Linked DNA regions of Homo sapiens: regions 2 and 3 are each linked to region 1. The links are contacts of gene promoters, found by promoter capture Hi-C in blood cells and fetal thymus (Javierre and others, 2016). All regions are on one chromosome and are shown on one strand. Each heading gives the region's core, a stretch centred on a gene start or on the middle of the fragment in contact. The rest is flanking DNA. Distances are from core to core; before and after follow the strand shown. Region 1 holds the start of SERPINB8 (serpin family B member 8). Region 2 has its middle 26 kb from the start of VPS4B. Region 3 overlaps BCL2 (BCL2 apoptosis regulator).

Region 1 (4,488 bases), core at 575-3,074:
GAAGACAAAGGGCATGGTTTGTGTGGTGCCCCTGGGGTGGGTTTCTATGGTTTCCTGTGAGCCACGTGGTAGTGAGATAGGACGGACCCTTATGCCACATTTAGGAGTTTGAACTTGAGATTATGGTCTGGAAAGCCATGCATGGTTTTTAAACAAACGTCTCATATGAGTGCATTGGGGCTTTAGAAAGATAACCCGGCTCAGTATTTGGTATGAAAAGAGGCTGGGGAGCTGGCGCGTAGGCCACCACCATGGGCCAGGGACTGCTGAAAGCAGAGGGATTGTCTGCAATAGAGAAGTGGGGGCTGGAATTGCCAGGCAGTGACTGCTCACATAGGGACAGAGCACAGGAGGGCCCAGTCCCGAGGCGCCTAGCTGTTATAAATTCATACTCAGGGTGGGTCGTGAACCACTGGAATTTTAAATGAGGAGTCAGGCTGGAATGGGGAATATGACTTGTTCCATTTGAGATGCGTGGAACACACCATACCAGGTGAACCTGTAACAAAGACAGCCAAGGATGTTTGTAAACAGTTAGGGACGGGGATGAGTAGACTGTCTAGAGCCAGAGACCTGGAGCCATCAGCATCCCGATTCCGAGAGGTTCCATGAGAATGGATGAAACTACACAGAACATCTAGTGGAGGCACAAGGGAAGAAATCCACCTATTTCTGTGGAATTTCCAATATCTGGAGGTAGTAAAAGGAAGAGACAGAGGAGGGCGAGGGGAGAGCGCGCGCGCGAAACGGAGACTGAGACCCAGCCATCAGGGTGTGCTGGGAGAACTGGGGAGACGAGTCTGCCCCTGCGAGTGGACCCAGGGAAGAGGGCGCGGTCTACGCAGAGCCCGAGGCAGGGAAGCGGGAGGGGCCCGGAGAGCAGCCCTGGGTGAGGCCCTTTGGAATGGAGAGGTCTCAGGAGTGAAGCAGCAGCCAGAGGACTGAGAGTGTCTGGAAAGTGAGGAATTGGTTAAAGTAACGCCGGTGGCTGCAACAGAGAGGGGCGTAGGTGAAGAAGCACCCCCAACCCCATCCCATTTGAGAGGAAGCAGACAATGAAGAAGAGAATATGAAAGATACAGAAAGATGAAGGCAGGGGTGGAAAGAACGGAGGGGGGGGACAGGAAGGGAAGGAGAAGGTGCAACCAATAGGCTGTAAGCACAGGGGCAAGCTTGGGCGCCAGGGGAGCAGGGACTCGGCGCCTCCCCGATCTGCCCCAGGCGCCACGGAAATTCCAGGCCCCGCCACCCGCACTCCCGGAGCCTCCTCCGCAGCGGCGGCTCCTCCCACTCGCCCTCCCGGGGCTCCCGCCCAAGCTTCCGGCGCTTCCAAACTCACTGCTCGCGTCACCCCCCGCTCCCATCCGGCAGCAAATCACAGCGCAGCAAATCGCAAGCCTAGAAACAGACGCTCCCTCTCCAGGGGCAGCTTCCTATTCAGGGCGGGTCTGGGCGCACCTGTTCTCGGGACCCGGCCCTCGGCCTTCGCCGGGTCTCGCGGTGGGGCTTGGGACCCCGGCTGGTGCCAGGGCGACCCCCACAGCCCCGCGACTCTCTTTCCCGGCCGCCTCCCGCCGTCATTCTCCTAGTTCCTGCCCGCCTTTGCCTCGCTCTGATTCCTGCTCTGGCCTTCCTCCCTTCCCCTCTCTCACGCACTCCAGGGAAGAGGTGGCCTCCGCGGGAACCTGGGCACCTCCGTGCCTGCCCCGCCCGGTACCTGGCAGAGGCCCCCACCTCCTGCTGCTGCTGCTGCTGCCGCCGCCGCCGCCGCCGCTGCTGCTTTGACTATTCCTCCTTTGTAGATGCTTCACGTCCGCCTTGATTGAGGGCAAGGCTTCCGGCAGATGACTCAGAACCGTTCGATTGCTCTGGCTTGTGCAATCCCTGATTCTTTGGGCCTGTGTGGATGTCTGTGGGCACCGGAGAGAGGGCCAGTGCCTGGTCCTTGGAGGGTGGTTTTTATAAAAAGTGTACACATTGGCTATTGTCCTTTTTTCACCGTTGATTCACGTTTGACTCCACTGTAGTTAGACGTCCACCCAAACATTCTCTGAAATTGCTCCTGATAAGGATACTAATCATTTTCTAATTGCCTTGGCCAAAAAATACATCCCAGGTCTTATTTCATTTTGTTTGTTGGCGACATTTAGCCCTTTCTTCTTTGACCTTCCCAGGATTTCCAGAGCACCCTTCCCTTCTTTCCTGACTCCTTTGCTTGGTATCCTGATTCCTTTCCTACCATTCTAAGCCCTCTTCTTTTCATTATAATATGATCTTCTTGTATGACCTCCACTATATCCATAGGTTCATGTTTCAACTTTTAACTTATTTCTTCAAAATCTCTAACCTGTCTCGAGCCGTAGATGTTACCTGTGTACTACTGGACATCTCTCAGAAACCTGGGTGTGTCCCTCCGCAGTTCTTTTAACTAAATGATCAACAGTCCTGTTACTTCTATCACTTTTGTGTTCCTCCTGTCCATACTCTGTCACCTCTATCATGTCTCATGTCTCTCCTAAACAATTAATTTTCCTACCTACAGTTCTGATCCATGCCAACCTATTGCCTACTCTGAAGTTCAGGTAAACATTCCAATTCTAATTATTTTATACCTCAGTTTAAAATCCTTTATAACATCCTCTTATCCAAAAAGATAAATTAGAAACTATTGAGCAAGGAGTGTAAGCCTCTTCACGTCTTGATTTCTCCCTTCTTTTCTTTAGAGCCATAGCAAATTATTTACATTCCTTCATATCCTCTGTTCATATACATGGGGTTCCTGGCATGCAAGCTTGTCTTTCAAAATTCAGTTCAAATAATGTCTCCTGCAGGAAGCTCTCACAGAGCTCTCCAGTTTGGGAATTCTGCTTTTAAAGATGCACATTCCCACTCTGCACCCCAAACCAATTAAGTAAAGATCTCTTGGAGGAGGGAACCCAGCAGCAGTATTTTGTAAAACTCGCTCAGTGATTTCCCTGTGGAATCCTAAAAGTAACTGTTCCCAAGAACTCTCCTCAATAAGTCTTGGTGCAGGATTCACCCCCATCTTTTCTCCATGACTTTGAAACCCCTCTCTCTAGTGGCTACAGACTCACATTTGAACTGTGCCCAAACTTACCGGCTCTGCCAGTTGAAAATGCCAAGGTCACTTCCCCATTGTGCATCAATTTCTCCTTGTTGGTCAGAACTAGATCCAGACTTTGGGCCCCACTTTGTCCATCCACTCCTTTTCCTCTTTGACCAGCAAAACAGATTAAAAGATGAAAAATGCTTGTTTTCCTCCGTGAAACTTCCAGCAAATGCCTGGTGGTTTGAAGTCCTTTACAAAGGATATAATTTGGCCCCTGGGAGTTTGGTTGTAAACACAGATATCCCATGTAGGAAACACAGTGCGTGCAGGTGCAAAGAGGCACAAGATAGCACCATGAAAACCATGACGTATCCAGGCCTGCAGTGGTACAGATAGTGTGGATGAGGCACTGCAAGACAACGTCTGATGTGTCCACAGGGCCATGTCGTGAAGGCCATGTGGACGCTGTTGGTGGTGTTTCTTCGTTCCCTTGTGGACTATGGGGAAACACAAAAGGATTTTAAGCTGGGGAGAAACATAATCATATTTGTATTTACGAAGGTCCCTCTGGCTGCAACATGGAGTATATTGTAGGAGGGTACCATTGCCTGCAGTGAGGCGTTAAGGACGCAGCATGGATGAGAGATGAGGAAAGCTGAAATGAAACAGAGGCAGGAGAAATGGAGAGGAGGACATGGCCTTGAGGAATTTCCAGGACATAAATTTGGCATCACTTCTTGGACCATGAGAGGAAGAGGGAGCAGGAAGAATCAAAGATGAATCCAAGAATGAACAAATCTAATTTTTGAAATAATGCAATGAAAAGTAGAACTGGTCTGTTTTCCTAGGTAAGGAATTTGTCTGCAAGTCGATATTCACGAGGATTAATTGTATTTATTTTCTGAGTATGGACAATTTAAATGCTGGGCCCTGAAGGGAAACCCATCTCTCAGAATAACTAAAGCCCAATTTCAGAGTGAGCCTGAACAGGCTCCCCACTCCACCCTGGCCCACTGGGGACACAACAGGTAACTGATAAGGTTCCAGAGTATATAATTCAGTGCCTCAGAAACTGTCCTCAGCCTCATCTTCTGTCTTCTTGCCTCATACCTAACTTCACATCTCTTCAGTCAGTACTAGGGAGTATCTGCTGGTTCTCAACTCCCGACTCAACCTTGACCTAGTTTTGTCTGACTCCCTCGGCTCCTGACTTTGTGGACCTCAGGAAGGGCACACTCCTAGGCTAGTCTCAGGTTGAGCTACCACCGTCTCCAAATTAGACTTCCACTTGTCAAGAAGGAAGTAGAGTCCAGGCATAATTGGAGCTTCCTGGGGTGATTCGAGGTCTCTGTACTCCTTGCTGTAAAATGCACAAATACTCCACCTTAAAGAATCTCACGGGGCAGGGCACAGTGGCT
Region 2 (4,193 bases), core at 89-2,588, 520 kb after region 1:
TGGGGGGGTCAGCCCCCCGCCCGGCCAGCCGCCCCGTCCGGGATGTGAGGGGCGCCTCTGCCCGGCCGCCCCTACTGGGAAGTGAGGAGCCCCTCTGCCCGGCCAGCCGCCCCGTCCGGGAGGGAGGTGGTGGGGGTCAGCCCCGAGCCCGGCCAGCCGCCCCGTCCGGGAGGTGAGGGGCGCCTCTGCCCGGCCGCCCCTACTGGGAAGTGAGGAGCCCCTCTGCCTGGCCACCACCCCGTTTGGGAGGTGTACCCAATAGCTCATTGAGAACGGGCCATGATGACAATGGCGGTTTTGTGGAATAGAAAGGGGGGAAAGGTGGGGAAAAGATTGAGAAATCGGATGGTTGCCGTGTCTGTGTAGAAAGAGGTAGACATGGGAGACTTTTCATTTTGTTCTGTACTAAGAAAAATTCTTCTGCCTTGGGATCCTGTTGATCTGTGACCTTACCCCCAACCCTGTGCTCTCTGAAACATGTGCTGTGTCCACTCGGGGTTAAATGGAGTAAGGGCAGTGCAAGATGTGCTTTGTTAAACAGATGCTTGAAGGCAGCATGCTGCTTAAGAGTCATCACCACTCCCTAATCTCAAGTACCCAGGGACACAAACACTGCAGAAGGCCGCAGGGTCCTCTGCCTAGGAAAACCAGAGACCTTTGTTCACTTGTTTATCTGCTGACCTTCCCTCCATTATTGTCCTGTGACCCTGCCAAATCCCCCTCTGCGAGAAACACCCAAGAATGCTCAATAAAAAAAAAAAAATTTTAAATAAAATAAAATAAAGTTCCCAGGCAATTATAAATCACAACCAGGTTTCAGAATCAATGGACAGAAGAATTCTCAAATTGAAATCTAGAAATCAATTTCAACAGAATCACCAGGGTTGATTACAGAATGAGGATTCCAGGGCAGAGCCTCACCCTATGCTGACTGAGTCAGAATTTCTGGAAGGAGCCTTAAAATCTTTTTTTTCTTTTTTCCTTGGGTGTTTTTGAGATGGGGTCCTGCTCTGTGGCCAGGCTGGAGGGCAGTGGCACAATCTCGGCTCACTGCAGCCTCTGCCTCCTTTGTTAAAGCGATTCTCGTGCCTCAGCCTCCCTAGTAGCTGGGATTACAGCCACACGCCACCACACCCAGCTAATTTTTGTATTTTTAGTAGAGACGGGGTTTCACCATGTTGGCCAGGATGGTCTCAATCTCCTGACCTCATGATCTTCTCACCTCGGCCTCCCAAAGTGCTGAAATTAAAGGCATGAGCCACTGTGCCCAGCCAAAATCTTCATTTTTGACAACTTCCCCAGGCAATTAGAATGTATACTAATTGCCTAATTTATTTATTTATTCATTTATTTATTTATTTGAGACAGGGTCCTGCTCTGTCTCCCAGGCTGGAGTGTGGTGCTGCTATCTTGGCTCACTGCAGCCTTGATCTCCCCAGACTCAGGTGATCCTCTCACCTCAGCCTCCCGAGTAGCTGGGACCACAGGTGCACACCACTATGCCCGCCTAATGTTTGTATTTTTTTGTAGAAGTGAGGTTTTGCCATGTTGCTCAGGCTGGTCTCGAACTCCTGGGCTCAAGCACTTCGTCCACCTCAGCCTCCCAAAGTGCTGGGATTACAGGTGTAAGCCACTTCACCCAGCCACTACTTTTATTTTTCTTTAATATATGGAAGTACGGATTTATAACACTGTGAAGCTAGACATTGTTATGATATTTTTACAGATGAGAAAACTGAAATTCAGAGGAGTCCAGTAACCTTCTCCAGGTTAGGTGGTCCCCATCACTAAGAAGTGGTCCTCTTTAACTCGTTTGTTCCATGGCTGCTCTCTCAAGTGATTCCTTACTGAGTCATGAAAACCATTTCCCACTCCCCTCTTCTCTCCCACTACCTCATTAAAGGAATTGTTTCTGGCCAGGCGCAGTGGCTCACACCCGTAATCCCAGCACTTTGGGAAGCCAAGGTGGGTGGATCACCTGAGGTCAGGAGTTCAAGACCAGCCTAGCAAACCCCATCTCAACTAAAAATACAAAAATTAGCCGGGTGTGGTGGCGGACACCTATAATCCCAGCTACTCGGGAGGCTGAGGCAGGGGAATCATTTGAACCCAGGAGGCAGAGTTTGCAGTGAGCTGATATTGTGCCACTGTACTCCAGTCTGGGCTACAGAGTAAGACTCCATCTCCAATAAATAAATAAACAAGATGTAACCATTGGGGGAAACTGAGTGAATGGAGGCCCTCCGTACTATCTTTGCAATTTCCTGTGAACCTTTAATTATCTCAAAATTTAGAAGTTAAGAAGAAATACAGTGAAGCAACTCCAATAAGCGGCATATCTAGCTTGTTTAGAGCAGGCCCAGGATGTGTAAGAGGTGCACATTCTAGAATATATTTGAACGTAAAGGTAAAGGAGATGCCCCTGGTCCCCACATCATGATGCTAAAAGTGCATTATCTTTTTTTTTTTTTTTTTTTTTTTTTGGAGACAGAGTCTCGCTCTGTCACCCAGGCTGGAGTGCAGTGGCGCGATCTCAGCTCACTGCAAGCTCCGCCTCCCGGGTTCACGCCATTCTCCTGCCTCAGCCTCCCAAGTAGCTGGGACTACAGGCGCCCGCCACCACGCCCGGCTAATTTTTTGTATTTTAGTAGAGACGGTGTTTCACCGAGTTAGCCAGGATGGTCTCCATCTCCTGACCTCACGATCCCCCCGCCTCGGCCTCCCAAAGTGCTGGTATTACAGGCGTGAGCCACTGCGCCCAGTCAAAATGTACATAATCTTAACACCTGTTCTGCAGTGAGAAGCTCTATGAAGCCCCAAAGACCAAGGAAGCTGAGAGGCCACAGAAAGAGGCTGATAAATCCAGTTTCTCAGAAAGAAACATGTCATAGGGGCTTAGGAACAGAAGCCATGTTCCATGCAGCCCTGAGATGGTGGATCCCACCCTGATACCTTCCAGACCCAGGGCTTATATACCATAGGGCATTTGCCTAAGGGAAGGATTTATGGTAAGTATGTGTTTATGATAACATAAAGGTTGTTTTGACCTAAGGGCCGGATTTACAGTAACTATGAGAGATTAGAAATCTTAGAGGTATTCCCAGAACTTGGGTTAATCAGAAGTCATCTTGGGAGATTAGTATCCAAGATACAGTTGCTGTAGCCTCCATTACCCTGGCTCCCAAATACAAGTTTCTGGGAGCAGATCGATATACGTATTGAGCACCTGCCATTGGGCCATGCACTGTGCTAGGTGCAAAGATCATTGAACGTGGACTCTACAGCAAAAGCTAATGCGACATTCAGAGAACTGAGGCCTGTGCCAAGTATCTCCAGCAGAAAGCAAAATGGGAGAAGTGCCAGGAGTGTGAGAAAGGAACATTCAACCTTTACTAGGTGCCTGTTACAGGACAGAACTCTGCTGGGTCCTCGGGATATGAATATGACAAGTAGCACATCCCTGATGTTAGGGAGCTCACAATCTAATCCAGGAACTGGGCACACACACAAACAACGGGATATACTTTCCAGCTATGTAAAGCAAGCCTTCAATTGTGCAACTTTGTTTAACAATATATCAAACAGTATATACCATTCCCATCAGCAGTGCCTTAATCATAAGTAAACACATAGAAACACCTAAAGGAGTACCCATGAAGCTACAGATGCGACGTACAACATGACAACAAACTTCACACCAGTGCCTTAGTGTTCAGTTTCCTTGCAAATTCAAGGAAATAATACTAATGAGTAATGGATCAGGTAGATCCTTTTGCTTGCAAGTAACAGAAACATAAGCTTGCCCACAGTGAAAGGAGACAGTATATGTCCATTTAAACAAGTAGGGTAGGCAAAGACCAGGGATTTAGCCCAGGCAGGACATTATCTCACTTCCTTTCATCTCTGCTTCTCTCTGCATGTTGGCCTCAGTCTACCGCTGCAGGTGGACTTTCCCCAGGCAACAGGAGACCTACAGCTTCATCAACACCTACCCCATGGCCAGAGAGCACAAAGCTCTATCCGGCCAGCTCCAGGCAGGCAGACCTCAAGGCAGCATGCTGATTGGCCAAACTCTGGTCACATGTCCATCTCCAGACCAATTAGTATTGTCCAAGTCTGTTACCAATGAAGTAAGTCCCACGGGTCACTGAATTCAAATTGTTCCATTGCAAAGAGTGTCACCTCTCAGATGC
Region 3 (4,367 bases), core at 1,290-3,789, 810 kb after region 1:
GCCACTAAGAGCACAGACTCTGAAGAGTCTGATTGCCAGATTGCCAGAGTTTGAGTCTAGCTTAGCCACTATGTGACTTTGGACAACTTCCCTCCAATACTTTGATCTCCTCATGTGTGAAGTGGGGAATATAATAGTGCCTACTTTTTAAAGTCACTATGAAGTTTAAGATGAATGGATATTTGTTAAGTGCTTAGATCAGTGCTTGTACACAGTGCTATATAAATGACTATTGTTGTGTGTTTTTTTTCATTTTACTGAATATCCAATACATTATTCCTCTCCACATAACTTCCTACTAGGATAAAAAGTAAAGTTTCTCTTTCAGGCAACATGCAATCAAATTTAACAGCTGGCCAAAAGTTTAGTAAGACCTTGCTTATTACACCTTTTTGGCAATATTAAAATAATATTTGTTTCAATCTAAAGGTTGCTTCATCTGCTGTTATAGGGCTAGGCACTGTGGGGCCAATAGGAGTGAAATATGTGATACCCCTCCCAAAAGAACTTGCAATCAAACAATATTGGAAAATATAAGAAGTGATATATTAGGTAGCAAAACAAAACTGAAGAGCAGATGTGATGAACTATTGGAGAAGTTTAGGAGATGTAGACATTAGTGACAGCTTGAATGGTCAGGTGAGGAAGGTAAGGAGATTTTCAGGTGGGATGAGCTGAGCTGGAAGAATGGGTTAAGATTTGGGTGATGAAGGTAAGAGTGCTCCCAGAAGGTAAAGATACAGACAGTGGTAAGGAAGGGTGGCCAGCCATGGTGACTCACACCTGTAATCCCAGCACTTTGGGAGGCCGAGGTGGACCAATGACTTGAACCGAGGAGTTCAAGACCAACCTTGGCAACATAGCCAGACCCCATCTCTACAAAAACTAGCCAGACATAGTGGCACATGCCTATAGTCCCAGCTACTCAGGAGGTTGAGGCAAGAGGATCACTTGATCCTGGGAATTCAAGGCTGCAGTGAGCTATAATTGCGACTGCACTCCAGCCTGAGTGACAGAGCAAAAGTTTCTCAATTTAAAGGAAGGAAGGAGGGAAGGAAGGAGGGATGGAAAGAAGGAAGGAAGGAGGGAAGGAAAGAAGGAAGGAGGGCAGAGTTTGGGGGTTTGGGAGGGTGAAGGCATGGAAATGAAGGCTCTGGTGTCTTCCTTGGAGGAGCAGTGAGGATGCTGCCCTAGTGGTAGCCAAGGATTAATTGTGCCAAGAGCATAGATGGTGCTAGAAAATCAGGCGACAGTAGCTGGATTATGAAGGTCTTCACAAAGCAGGCAAATGAGTTCAGATTTGGTTTAATAGAAAATAGGAAGTGAGAAAGAGGTAAGAAACACGATCTAGAATGCTGGCCAGCTGTGTCACCCGCGTGCCTGCCTGCACCAGTAGTGTCCCCGAGCTGGGCCTGACACCATTCTTTGGTGATGGTGGAATAAAGGCAAGTTGAAGAAATAAAAACATGTTCATATATGTGAGTTCCCAAGACAAACCACAGCAGATCCCAGGAATGTGTTTCTGATTGAGCAATGAAGACGTGTTGGTGGGGTTTTGGTTGGGGTGGGTGTGGGTGTCATCTCTGTTTCATGAGGTCTAAATTTCTACTGGCTCAGAAAAAGAACTTTGAGCAGTTTTTTGTTTATATGGGTCATCATCGTCTTCAATTTTTGTGGAGTTTTCTCAGAGCTTCTTGATGGTCTGCTAATACTAAAATAAATATATTAGGCCTTTTGCCTGTCTCTTCTTTTCTGTCACTGGGTGATGGCCTTTGTTTCCTCTAATGGACACATTCCAGATTTGAGTGCGGAGCGGGCAGTCCCTGGCTGCTCATGTCTGACATCGTTCCCTCCCTGTGTAGCAAAGGGAAATCAACAGCACGTGGGAGGGGGAATCTGTGTTCTAAGAACTGCTTTGGTTTACACATCTATAGATAACACTCAACCAGCACTGCAGGTCACATGGACCGGCTGGTGAGGCTGAGGATGAGTCACTTTTAAATTACTCATAGAGAAAGAAATATGTTTCTGAAAGCCAGAGTGGTTGGCTTACACATGGAGGTAAGAGAGAAAGCAGGCAGCTTCATAAAGCACTCAGACCTCCTGTGACAGCTGACGTGGTGTGTAGTGCGTCAGGTGGGAAGACGGGGCCCTGCGTCCTCAGCAATGTATTTGGAGGTGAGGCTTTTTGTTGATGGGAACCCCTGTGCTGGGACTTGGGGGTATTTAGGATACATTTCCATCTAGCTAGACTTTCTCTTACAGTCCCACTTTGTAAATGGCCCTAGGACCCTTGATTAACTTTCAGTAACACAGTCTAGTGGTGAACACCAAGCCATCTGAGGCTGAAATATGGAGAAGTATGTCAGTCCAACAGAAGGTCAGATGGGGAGGGGCGAGGGAGCTTTCAGAAAGTCTTGGAGTACAAGGGCCTCAGCTGAGCCTCGAAGGTCTTCATTCGTTGCAAAGAAGAAGGAATTCTGTCCCAAGCGAGATGGAAAGATCATCTGAGCAAAAAGAAAGCATCAGTGACAGAGGCTGCAACTTCATTTCACTGGCTGAGTCTAAATTTTTTTCACAGGAAAAAATATACAGAAGACAAGAGAACAATCACCAAGGAAGCCCAAGGCACTGCTTACTAAATTGGTCCAAGGGGGGGATTTCACCAAATGCAAATGAACAAAGAACAATACATGTGACTCAAAATATCCGTTATGCTCTTAATACTTACGAGAGGGTGTGAGGCAGGGAGGTGACCTTTTCAAGGGTTGAAAGCTGTCAACTTTTCAACCACATTGTTTTCATTGCTGGGAGATTGAAGACAGGATCACCTCAGGGTACCATTTTGGAAAAGTGATTTAAAAAAAATTAAAAACTCCTTCCTGCATAATGTTTTGGGACATTTTGAATTGTTTTTGCCGTGAAGACATAGAATTCAGGTGTCCAGGAAATACTGCAACCTTTTATGAGAAATGAATACCCAGAAGTCTAGAGCTGCCTGGCACTCACTCTGGCAGGTCTTCCACCTCTGGTCCCTCTCCAGCAGAAGGGCTAGTGAGCAGTTTAGGACCCCTGGAGCAGGGGTACCCTTACCCCCACCCCAAAGGAAGCGATGTGGCTTTTTTCTCGCAGCCCCGCCCCCATCCCTTTGACAGGTCACTAGAACAACAGAGTGCCCAAGTGGAGACAGGGAGGAATGTGATGGTTGGAGGGACCTAAAAATAACCATTTTTCCCTCATCCTGAATGTGCTACCCTGGGCCAGACATTCCCTGAAGGGCTCCTCTGAAATCTGGGAAACAGGAAATGCTAAGAAAATCTCTAATTTGCCTGGTCATGTGAACTCCTCTCGGTGTTGAAACAGAATTTTGGAAGAGGGGACTCTGCACTGTGGTTGAGCCCTCCTAATCAGAGAACATTTGCCCCTATGAGAATATGGTGGATGTGACTATTCAGCCTCAACTTCCCTCTTTCTAAACATGTAAACTCTGATGCCTAAAGAACAAAACCAGAAAAGAAACCCACTCGGTCTTAGTTGCGTATCTGAGTGCCGACAGGGCGGCTGAGAGGGGCCCACGTGCCTGTCGCTAAAAAGCCCCTTTGGCATTTCATAACAGGACCCAATCCCGCAGACTTGTCTGTGCAGGCTCACGCACCATCTTCAAAACCTTTACTACCTGTATTTGTAGTAGATGATTAATGATTAGGCTTTCTTCCCACACATTTGGCTTTGATAATCTCCACTCAAAAATATTCAGATGCAAATAATTTAAAAACAAAGTGGCTCCAAGGGCTCTTTCTGGGAGGATGGAAATGCTGCATATCTTGATAGGGGAGTGAGTTAAAGGGATGTATGCCTTTGTCAATATTCATAAAACTGTACACATGATATATTCATTTTGTTGTATGTAAATGATACTGAGAATGAAAACTCTTAAGATAATAAAGTGGGTTGAGTTTGGAAACCAGAAAAAGTGGACACGATGTAAATGACCCCGCTGAAAACGATTCGAGTTGGCCAGCAGAAACTAAGAAATGCGTACGCGTGGGCAGTCCCCACTGTGCGGGGAAATCTTTGCAAGGTGAGCAGATTCAGCTCAGCTCATAGAAACTCCAGCTGATTCTGCACATTCATCTGTGTTTTTGTAGGTGTTTTTGGTGTCTTTGTGTCCATTTCTGTTTGGCTCATTTCCCTACTCAATTGGATTTTGACTTCTATTTCCTGAATACAACACCCCCGCAATACCTAATATCCCAGGCCTGTGAAAAGTGAATGCCTAATAAATGTCCACTCACTCACTGAGATGGACTGCTTCTCCTGTCTCTGTTACATTCTATCAAAATTAGCCAGTGCATTTGGCCCTAAAT

The links. The method cuts DNA at HindIII sites, captures the fragments that hold promoters and counts their contacts. A CHiCAGO score of 5 or more calls a contact.
Region 2: a fragment that was not itself captured here is called in contact with the fragment with the promoter of SERPINB8 in region 1 in 1 of 17 cell types (monocytes); the score reaches 5.2 in monocytes.
Region 3: a contact is called between a fragment that was not itself captured here and the fragment with the promoter of SERPINB8 in region 1, in 1 of 17 cell types (non-activated CD4 T cells). The highest score is 5.0, in non-activated CD4 T cells.

What each region holds. Positions count from the first base shown.
Region 1 is chr18:63,967,417-63,971,904 of GRCh38, reverse strand. SERPINB8 (serpin family B member 8) reads right to left here and starts at 1,824. Exons shown (of 7, transcript NM_002640.4): 1 at 1,735-1,824. LOC105372165 (a long non-coding RNA gene) reads left to right here and starts at 1,401. Exons shown (of 3, transcript XR_935576.3): 1 at 1,401-2,582; 2 at 3,632-3,918. It also overlaps a transcript of HMSD not described here. RefSeq lists silencers at 1,123-1,342, 1,413-1,472, 1,483-1,682 and enhancers at 1,156-1,450, 1,743-1,912, 1,943-1,992. The HindIII fragment of the contact is 1,474 bases long and covers 1,320-2,793 here.
Region 2 is chr18:63,446,348-63,450,540 of GRCh38, reverse strand. No RefSeq gene overlaps it. Among named protein-coding and RNA genes, the nearest start is that of VPS4B, 26 kb to the right of the region's middle. The HindIII fragment of the contact is 4,924 bases long and covers 1-3,800 here.
Region 3 is chr18:63,159,540-63,163,906 of GRCh38, reverse strand. All of the region lies in intron 2 of BCL2 (BCL2 apoptosis regulator), which reads left to right. Among named protein-coding and RNA genes, the nearest start is that of BCL2, 160 kb to the left of the region's middle. RefSeq lists enhancers at 1,677-1,726, 1,927-2,216, 2,307-2,546, 2,957-3,076. The HindIII fragment of the contact is 5,416 bases long and covers 1-4,367 here.